Regions from separate parts of the Homo sapiens genome. Here region 2 is linked to region 1. Evidence: promoter capture Hi-C in human tissues and cell types (Jung and others, 2019). All regions are on one chromosome and are shown on one strand. The core of a region is centred on a gene start or on the middle of the fragment in contact, and the rest is flanking DNA. Distances in the headings are between cores, read along the strand shown.

Evidence for each region. Contacts are between HindIII fragments. The study calls those that stand out against the background at their distance.
Region 2: a contact is called between a fragment that was not itself captured here and the fragment with the promoter of YTHDF1 in region 1, in 1 of the 25 tissues and cell types used here (dorsolateral prefrontal cortex).

Annotation. Positions count from the first base shown.
Region 1 is chr20:63,214,479-63,218,074 of GRCh38, reverse strand. YTHDF1 (YTH N6-methyladenosine RNA binding protein F1) reads left to right here and starts at 1,944. Exons shown (of 5, transcript NM_017798.4): 1 at 1,944-2,209; 2 at 2,474-2,498. The coding sequence starts at 2,183. RefSeq lists silencers at 1,592-1,871, 2,002-2,071. The HindIII fragment of the contact is 8,217 bases long and covers 1-3,596 here.
Region 2 is chr20:63,265,401-63,268,975 of GRCh38, reverse strand. No RefSeq gene overlaps it. Among named protein-coding and RNA genes, the nearest start is that of ARFGAP1, 5.6 kb to the left of the region's middle. The HindIII fragment of the contact is 7,334 bases long and covers 1-3,575 here.

The DNA.
Region 1 (3,596 bases), core at 695-3,194:
TGGCCACTTCCCGCAGGGCCAGTGCTGCCTCCTGTGACTGGCTGGGCATTTGTGGGTGAAGGCAGCAGGTAACAGCCAGTGTTGACAGAGCCCTGGCCTGACGCCAAGGGCTGCATACCCAGTTTCTTCCACACACTCATCCTGTGAAAGGGGAGTAATTAACCCACCACGGAGGAGGAAAGTAGGCCTGAGGCTGAAGGCCCTGTAACTGGCTGTGAGGCTCTGAACTCCAGTGGTGACCACTGCACCGTCCTGGCCCAGGGATGGGAGCTGGGTGAGAAGACAGACAGGGGCTCCAAGAGTCCGAGTGTCTACTCTGACCACCCAGACACCCCCTTGCTGCAGTCTTGGCCGCCAAACAGTTCAGTGTCCTGGGAAGCAGGCACTCAGGGCCTGCCCAGGATGCGCAGGCCTTATCACACAGAAGCAGGTGGCAGGGTGCCCCCAGGGACCCCACTGTCCCTACAATCCCCACACATCTTCTCCATGTGGGCCACCATCCTGGAAACGTGCTGTTCATTTTCGGATGTACCCCAAATGCACAGATTTCATCCTGGCCTGAGATGTCTGCCCATGGCCCAAACACATCAAAGTCCCAGGGGATCCAGATTCATCCTCAGGGCACCAGACATCCCCCAGCTCTGTTCCAGGGAAACAAGCCCAGCCCGCTTTCCCCAGCTTTAGGCGAGGCAGGGCTCCAGGGAGACCTGGAGCAACTTGGAGCAGCAGTCCTCTCTGTGGCTGACCGGCCTGCTGGGGGCAGTTTCCACCTCCTCCTGCAGCAGTGTGAGAGGCTGTCTGCTACCCCACTGATGCGGATGTCCAGGCTTGGAGCCGTCTTGGGACTCCATTGCCGTCCCTGCTGTCACTGTTCACCCTGCTTAGCGCATCTGCCCGGGCCCACTTTGTGGAAAACACTCATTTGACGTCAACCTGCCTGACACCCCATTCCAGGTCTTTCTCCTTTAGCAGGACCCAGATCCAGGCCACGTGAAGATGTTACAGCTGCCAGAGCTGGAAAGAAAAATATCAACCTGGAAGCCTCTGTAGGGAGTTAGCCACAAGGGTGGCAGGATTGGATACTGGCTGCAGGGAGCGAAATTCAACACCTTGACCAGAAGGGCGTCCAGGTTGGGGATGCTGAGGGGTTAGGAACTGAGAACTGGGCTCTCTTTGCACAGTTGCTGCTAAGAAGGGGCTGTCCATCCTCGAACAAAGATGACAAGTCCCCTGGCCCGGCCTAGGCTGGGGCACAGAGCACTGCTTTTCCTCCTGGTGATGAAATCGGGGTCAAGAATCTAACATGAGAACTTGGTTATAAGCCGGCGAGCCTCTCGCAGGTCCAGGGGTGCATCCACACAACAGCTGACCTCCGGGACCGGGCCCAGGGCTCCGCTGCGGCTGAAGGCCAGGGCCGCAAAGCGAACAAAGCCCGCAGGTCCCGCGGCAAGGGCCGAGGCGCGCGACCTGGAACACGCGGGGGCTCGGAGCTCTGGGCGGGCAGGTGTTTGCGCGCGGGGGAAGGGCAGACCGACCCCGGACAGACCCGTAGCCCAGCTGTCGGACCAGAACAGCGTTTAGTCTTCGGACCTTGGGGAAAACTACAGAGGCCTCAGTGCCGGTAGCGCGTCGGGGGTGCGGCTGTGGCCGGGGTGTGTGTGGGCGGCTGTACACCTGGCAGCAGCCCGCCAGCCCCTTCCCGCCAGGCCCCGCGGCGCCTCCGGACACGCCCCACGTGACTTCCCCGGCTCAGGGCTTCCCCGCCCAGCCGGCTGCGGTCCCCGCCCCGCCGCACGAGACTGGGACCTGAGAGCGAAATCCATCCCGTAAGACGGGAGCGCGCAGGCGCGAAGTGTGGCGGCCCGGCGCGGCGCTCCCGGCCTGCCCCGCGTGCACGCTGACGCCGCGCAGTCTCGTCCCCTGCCGCCGCCGTCGCCGCTGCTGTCGCCGCCGCCGCCGCCATTGGAGTCGACGCCTCCTCAGTGCGTCCGCGTCCCGGGCTCACCGCCGCTGCCGCCTCGCCAGGGGCCCGCGCGCCCAGCAGCCGCCGCCGCCGCCCGGCCGGCGCCCGGGGAATTGGCGGCGGGGCCCGGGGCCGCGCGAGCTAGGGTGACAGGCCCGGCCTCTAGGGGAGGCCCGAGCCGGCGGGCGCCCCGGCCCCGCGTCTAGTTGTTCATGAAGCATGTCGGCCACCAGCGTGGACACCCAGGTAGCGGGGCCGGGTTACAGGGGCCGCGGCCGGGGCCGAGGCGCGGGGTCTGGGTTGAGGTCCTGGGGCTGGAACGCAGAGCCCGGGGTCGCGGAGGCCGGGCCCAGGCGGGACCGGGGTCTCGGGGCCGGGGTCGCACGTGACCGCGCGTCGGGGCCGGCGGAGCTCGCGGCCCGTTGGAGACCAGTTCTCTGGTGAATAACTTTGTGTTTCCCTCTTCCCCCGGGTTGTGTGTACCCCACGTCCCGGCCTGCGGCGGTGCAGAGAACAAAAGGACAAGATAATAAAGGTGAGCGGAGTCCCGGGACGGCCGGCGCGGGCTGGAGTGGAGGAGGACGGGGAAGGAACGGTCCAGGAAGCTGCGTCTGGAACCGGAAACTTTCTCTCTTCCGCCAGCTTCAGGGAGATAAAACTTGAGGTTGTGCGACGATTCTGGGAGATTTGACAGGTCGAAGACAGGGGCTTCTCAAGAAGTGAATAAATGATTGCTCAGAGTAGTTTGGGCCCGTCTCTCCCCACCGCATGATCATGGATTTGCTTTGGGGAAGGGGAGGTAGGAGAGCCGGGTGGACATGGCCGCAGGGGTTGAGCGACTTGCCTTTTTCCGCCCAGCAGGGGCTGCTCTAGGAGAGGGGCAGTCCAAGGTTCTGCAGGCTAAGCTCCACATCCCCGGTAGTTGCAGCCCGTTTTCCAAGTCTGTTAGCATCTCCTGTGACATTATGGCTTGGGATAAACCCTCAGAGCGCACTCATGTGAAAACTGTTAAGTGACACTTCACGTTTACTTGGAACACTTTTTTAGCCAGTTTGTGTGTCAGCTCAGGTGTAACCAAATACGGTTCATCGTGTTTTAAGATTGGAAAAGGCCCAGCACTTTATTTACCTTTGCTTGCTTTTTCTGGCTGAGCATAATAACAGTGGGAAGGTAAGTGGTGTAAAAGGAAAACCAGTCTTGGGGCACCCAAATCACTGAGCCAAAGGGAGAAAGCTACGCTGAGAACTGCTGAGGGCAAACCTGCCTCCCATTCTATTCCTGAAAAAGATAGCTTCTAAGACAAAAAAAGTTACATACTTCCCCCACAGTTTGCCCACAAGGAAATTCCTGGTGGACAAAGGACAGAACTCAGAGTCATTCCTGCTCACTGAGATAAATGCTTATCTGATTGCTTCCTTTGGAAAGGCTAATCAGAAACTCGAAAGAATGCAGCCGTTTGTCTCTTATCTACCTATGACCTGGAAGCCCCCTCCCTGCTTCAAGTTGTCCCGCCTCTCCGGACCAAACCAATGTACATCTTACATTGATGGTTCTCATGTCTCCCTAAAATGTATAAAACTAAGCTGTCCCCCGACTACCTTGGGCACATGTTGTCAAGACCTCCTGAGGTTGT
Region 2 (3,575 bases), core at 754-3,253, 51 kb before region 1:
CTTGAAAACTGAGGCTTAGCCCGTTCATTCCTGTGGCTCAGCCCAGCACACATGGCCATGCATGTGGCTGAGAGCCCCTCCCAGCTCAGCTCCTCCCATCCTGCATTCCACCCACCTTTCTCCAGGGAGCACGCCTGAATGTCGGCGTTCCTGTAAATTCCCACGTTGAAATCCTAACCGCCAGTGTGCTGGTTTCAGGAGGTGAGGCCTTTGGGAGGTGATGAGGGGTCAAAGGCAGAGCCCTCATGAATGGGATGAGTGCCCTCATAAAAGGGGCCCCAGAGAGACCCGACGCCTTTCCCATGTGAGGACACAGAGAGGAGGTGCCGGCTCTTGGGCACAGACCCTCGCCCAGCCCAGAATATCCCCATGCCTTGATCTTGGACTTCCGGCCTCCAGAACTGTGAGAAATGAATTTCTGTTGCTCACAAGCCACACAGTCTGGTGGATTTTCTTACAGCAGCCTGAGCAGATTAAGACAAGCACCTCCCAAAGAATCACTGGCACAGCAATCCCTGTCTTCAGCCTCCAGGGAACCTGACCTACGACAGCAGCCCTCCCAGCTGGCATTCCGGCTGCCATGTGCTGTGATGGGTGCCAGCACCTCTTAGTTTGGGTGAAGGGGAGAGGCCAGCAGCATAGCAAAGGGGAAATCCTTCTGGATCGTCGCCTCTCTCTCTCCAACCCTCTCCATCACCAGCATCAACCTGCAAGTCAGGTCACCTTGAGCCAAAGCCAGAAAGCCCCACACTCGCTGGGCTGCTCCATGCTCAGGCTGTTCCCTGCTCAGCGCTCCACACTTCATGGTAGAGTCCCCTGAAGTTCTCCTGCCCAGAAGTTCCTTCTTTCTGCCCAGACCTCGCTCAGCACCATCATCCTAGGAATAAAATCCCAGGAATAAACTCATCATTCCAGGCCTCCTAGGAACTTGGGTTCTGGTCTTGTCTCTGCCCCGCCCTCTCGTGCAGCTGCTGGGGGCCTCCAGCCCCTGCTCACTCACCCACGCCCTCTGCACCCTCCACTTGAGAGAATTCTGGTCATTCCCCTGGCCCTGCCCTGCCCCGTTGTCTGGGAGTTGCTGGAGGGTTGGCTCATCCCCTCGCCCTCTCCCTGTCTCTTGGTGTGTCCGGCCAGGGCTCACACAGAGGCAGCTCCAGGGAAATTCCTGTAGCTCAACTGCTGGGTCCTGCATTGCCACCACAGTCACAGCCAGCTTGAGCGGTGACGGGGGGAAGAAGTGAGGCAGGGGAGCTGACTCGCAGGTGGGGCTTTCAGGAAGGAGGCATTCTACAACCCCAGGGCACCATGGGGGTGCCCCTTGGAGGCTTGAAAGCCCCTTTGGTCCTGGGCAGGACCTCCAGAGGGAGCACGGCCAGCAGTTTGGGGTGGACCTGCCCAGATCTTGTCTTCTGCATAAACAGGCACACGGCCTGGGCTTCCCTGCTACTCACACCTTGATTGGTGGCTTTCTTGCGTCCCCTCTATAGCAGAGGCTTGTTCATCTTAACCACTGAGGTCTCTTACGTTCTCTAACTGGCCTCTGATTGGAAGACAGGACTCTCCTGTCACAATCATCATTACTTTGTTTTACCTTCGATGTTGCACTGGACATCTTTGTGCGGTGACCTCTCTCTGTTTGTGCGAGTATTTCCACAACATAGACCTCTAGAGGTGGAAGTGCCAGGTAAGTTCTGGGAGATTCCACCAAATTGTCCTCCAAACCCCTGTGCCAGATGCGCTGATGGGAGTGTGCCTGTTCCTTGCGTCCCCTCCCTGGCTGCCATTACCAAGGGGGCTGTCTCCGCCGGGCTCTAAGCACACGCGTCGCCATCGCTGTTTAATTTTCTCATCTTAATGGTGGTGAGGCCAAGCAAACACGGCCTGGCCATGGTGTGTCCTGTGGATGCCTGTGTTTTTCTCTGCCCATTTTTGTCTCCTGTTGATCATCTTCCACCACCAGGTCCTTCTGAAACAGCTTTGTCCTGTATCTGGAGAGAAGCACGTGAGGTTGGCCCGGGGCTGCCCACGACGGTGCCGCCTGGGTCCTGGAGAGAAGCGCGTGGGGTTGGCCCGGGGCTGCCCACGACGGTGCCGCCTGGGTCCTGGAGAGAAGCGCGTGGGGTTGGCCCGGGGCTGCCCACGACGGTGCCGCCTGGGTCCTGGAGAGAAGCGCGTGGGGTTGGCCCGGGGCTGCCCACGACGGTGCCGCCTGGGTCCTGGAGAGAAGCGCGTGGGGTTGGCCCGGGGCTGCCCACGACGGTGCCGCCTGGGTCCTGGAGAGAAGCGCGTGGGGTTAGTGCGGGGCTGCCCACGACGGTGCCGCCTGGGTCCTGGAGAGAAGCGCGTGGGGTTGGCCCGGGGCTGCCCACGACGGTGCTGCCTTGGTCCTGGCTTCTGGCCTGCTGCATGGTGGGACTCCACCTGGCTGGTTCCAGCCCCGTCTGCCCCCACTTCTGCTGCCTGTGCGTGGCGTCCAGAAGAACTGGGGCCCAGGACAGAAGGAAATGGGAAGAATGTCAGGGTGTGTAAGTCACCCAGAAGTACAAATGTTCCTCGAAAATGCTGAGCCGCTCTGTCCTGAGCTCCAAGAAACTTGCAGCTGTGCTGAATTACGTGTGGCCACAGCGGCTAAGGAGTCACAGCTAAGAATGTGCTGAGACCAGGCCAGCTTCTCAGATTGCAGAACTGGTAGCTCAGATCCTGGGGCTGTGACAGCTGGACCCGCAGGGTCCTCCTGCTTTGGACCCTCCCATGCGTATCTTAGCCAGGAATCTTTCCAGATTCTAGTTGCTAGAGGCAAAAATCTCAACCCCAAATGGCTTAGCAAAGGGAATGTATTGATTTGTGTGATGAAAATTCTAGAACAAAGTTCAATTTCAGGTGTGGCTTGATCCAGCAGCTCAGCACTATTGCTGAGAACCAGGATTCTCTGTGTATGTTTGCAGTTCCGTCTTCATCCTGAGACCCCAGGATGCTTCTGGCAGCTTCTAAGGCTGCAAGCTTCATGATTCGCCTCCAGCAAGAGAAAGTAGCCTTGCACCGGCATCCCAGCTGAAAGCTCACGCTCCACCCTGATGGGCCTAGCTGGGGTCATGTGTCCACTTCCAAACAATCACCGGCCAGGAGGATAGAATGTGCTGACTGGGTGCCCTGGGCTCCAAGCTCCAGCCCTGAGGCCCATGTGGACTCAGTTTCCCCAGACTGTGAGGACCCCTAGCAGAAGACCAAGGTGTTGGGCACGGAGGGCGAGGTATTGAGAGCCTTGCCTCAAACCGGTGCTGTGTGGCTGGGCTTCCATGGTCCCGAGGGACCGGGAAACTCTTCCTGTGTGATCGGAGTTGTTCCCATGTGTCCCCAGGCCCAGCCAGTTGCCGACAGCCAGAGCGGTACCAACACTGGTGACCGAGTGGTGGGCATTACCAGCTTCCCAAACTGGGATGCCTCTCTCCTGCAGGACGGGGCAGTGTGAGGGTCGGGGCAGGGAGGGTGGGGGGAGAGAAAGGACTGGGCTATGGGGGCACTGAGACATCTCCCCACCCCACCCCTGCCCAGGAAAGGGGGGCAGGGCTTGTGCA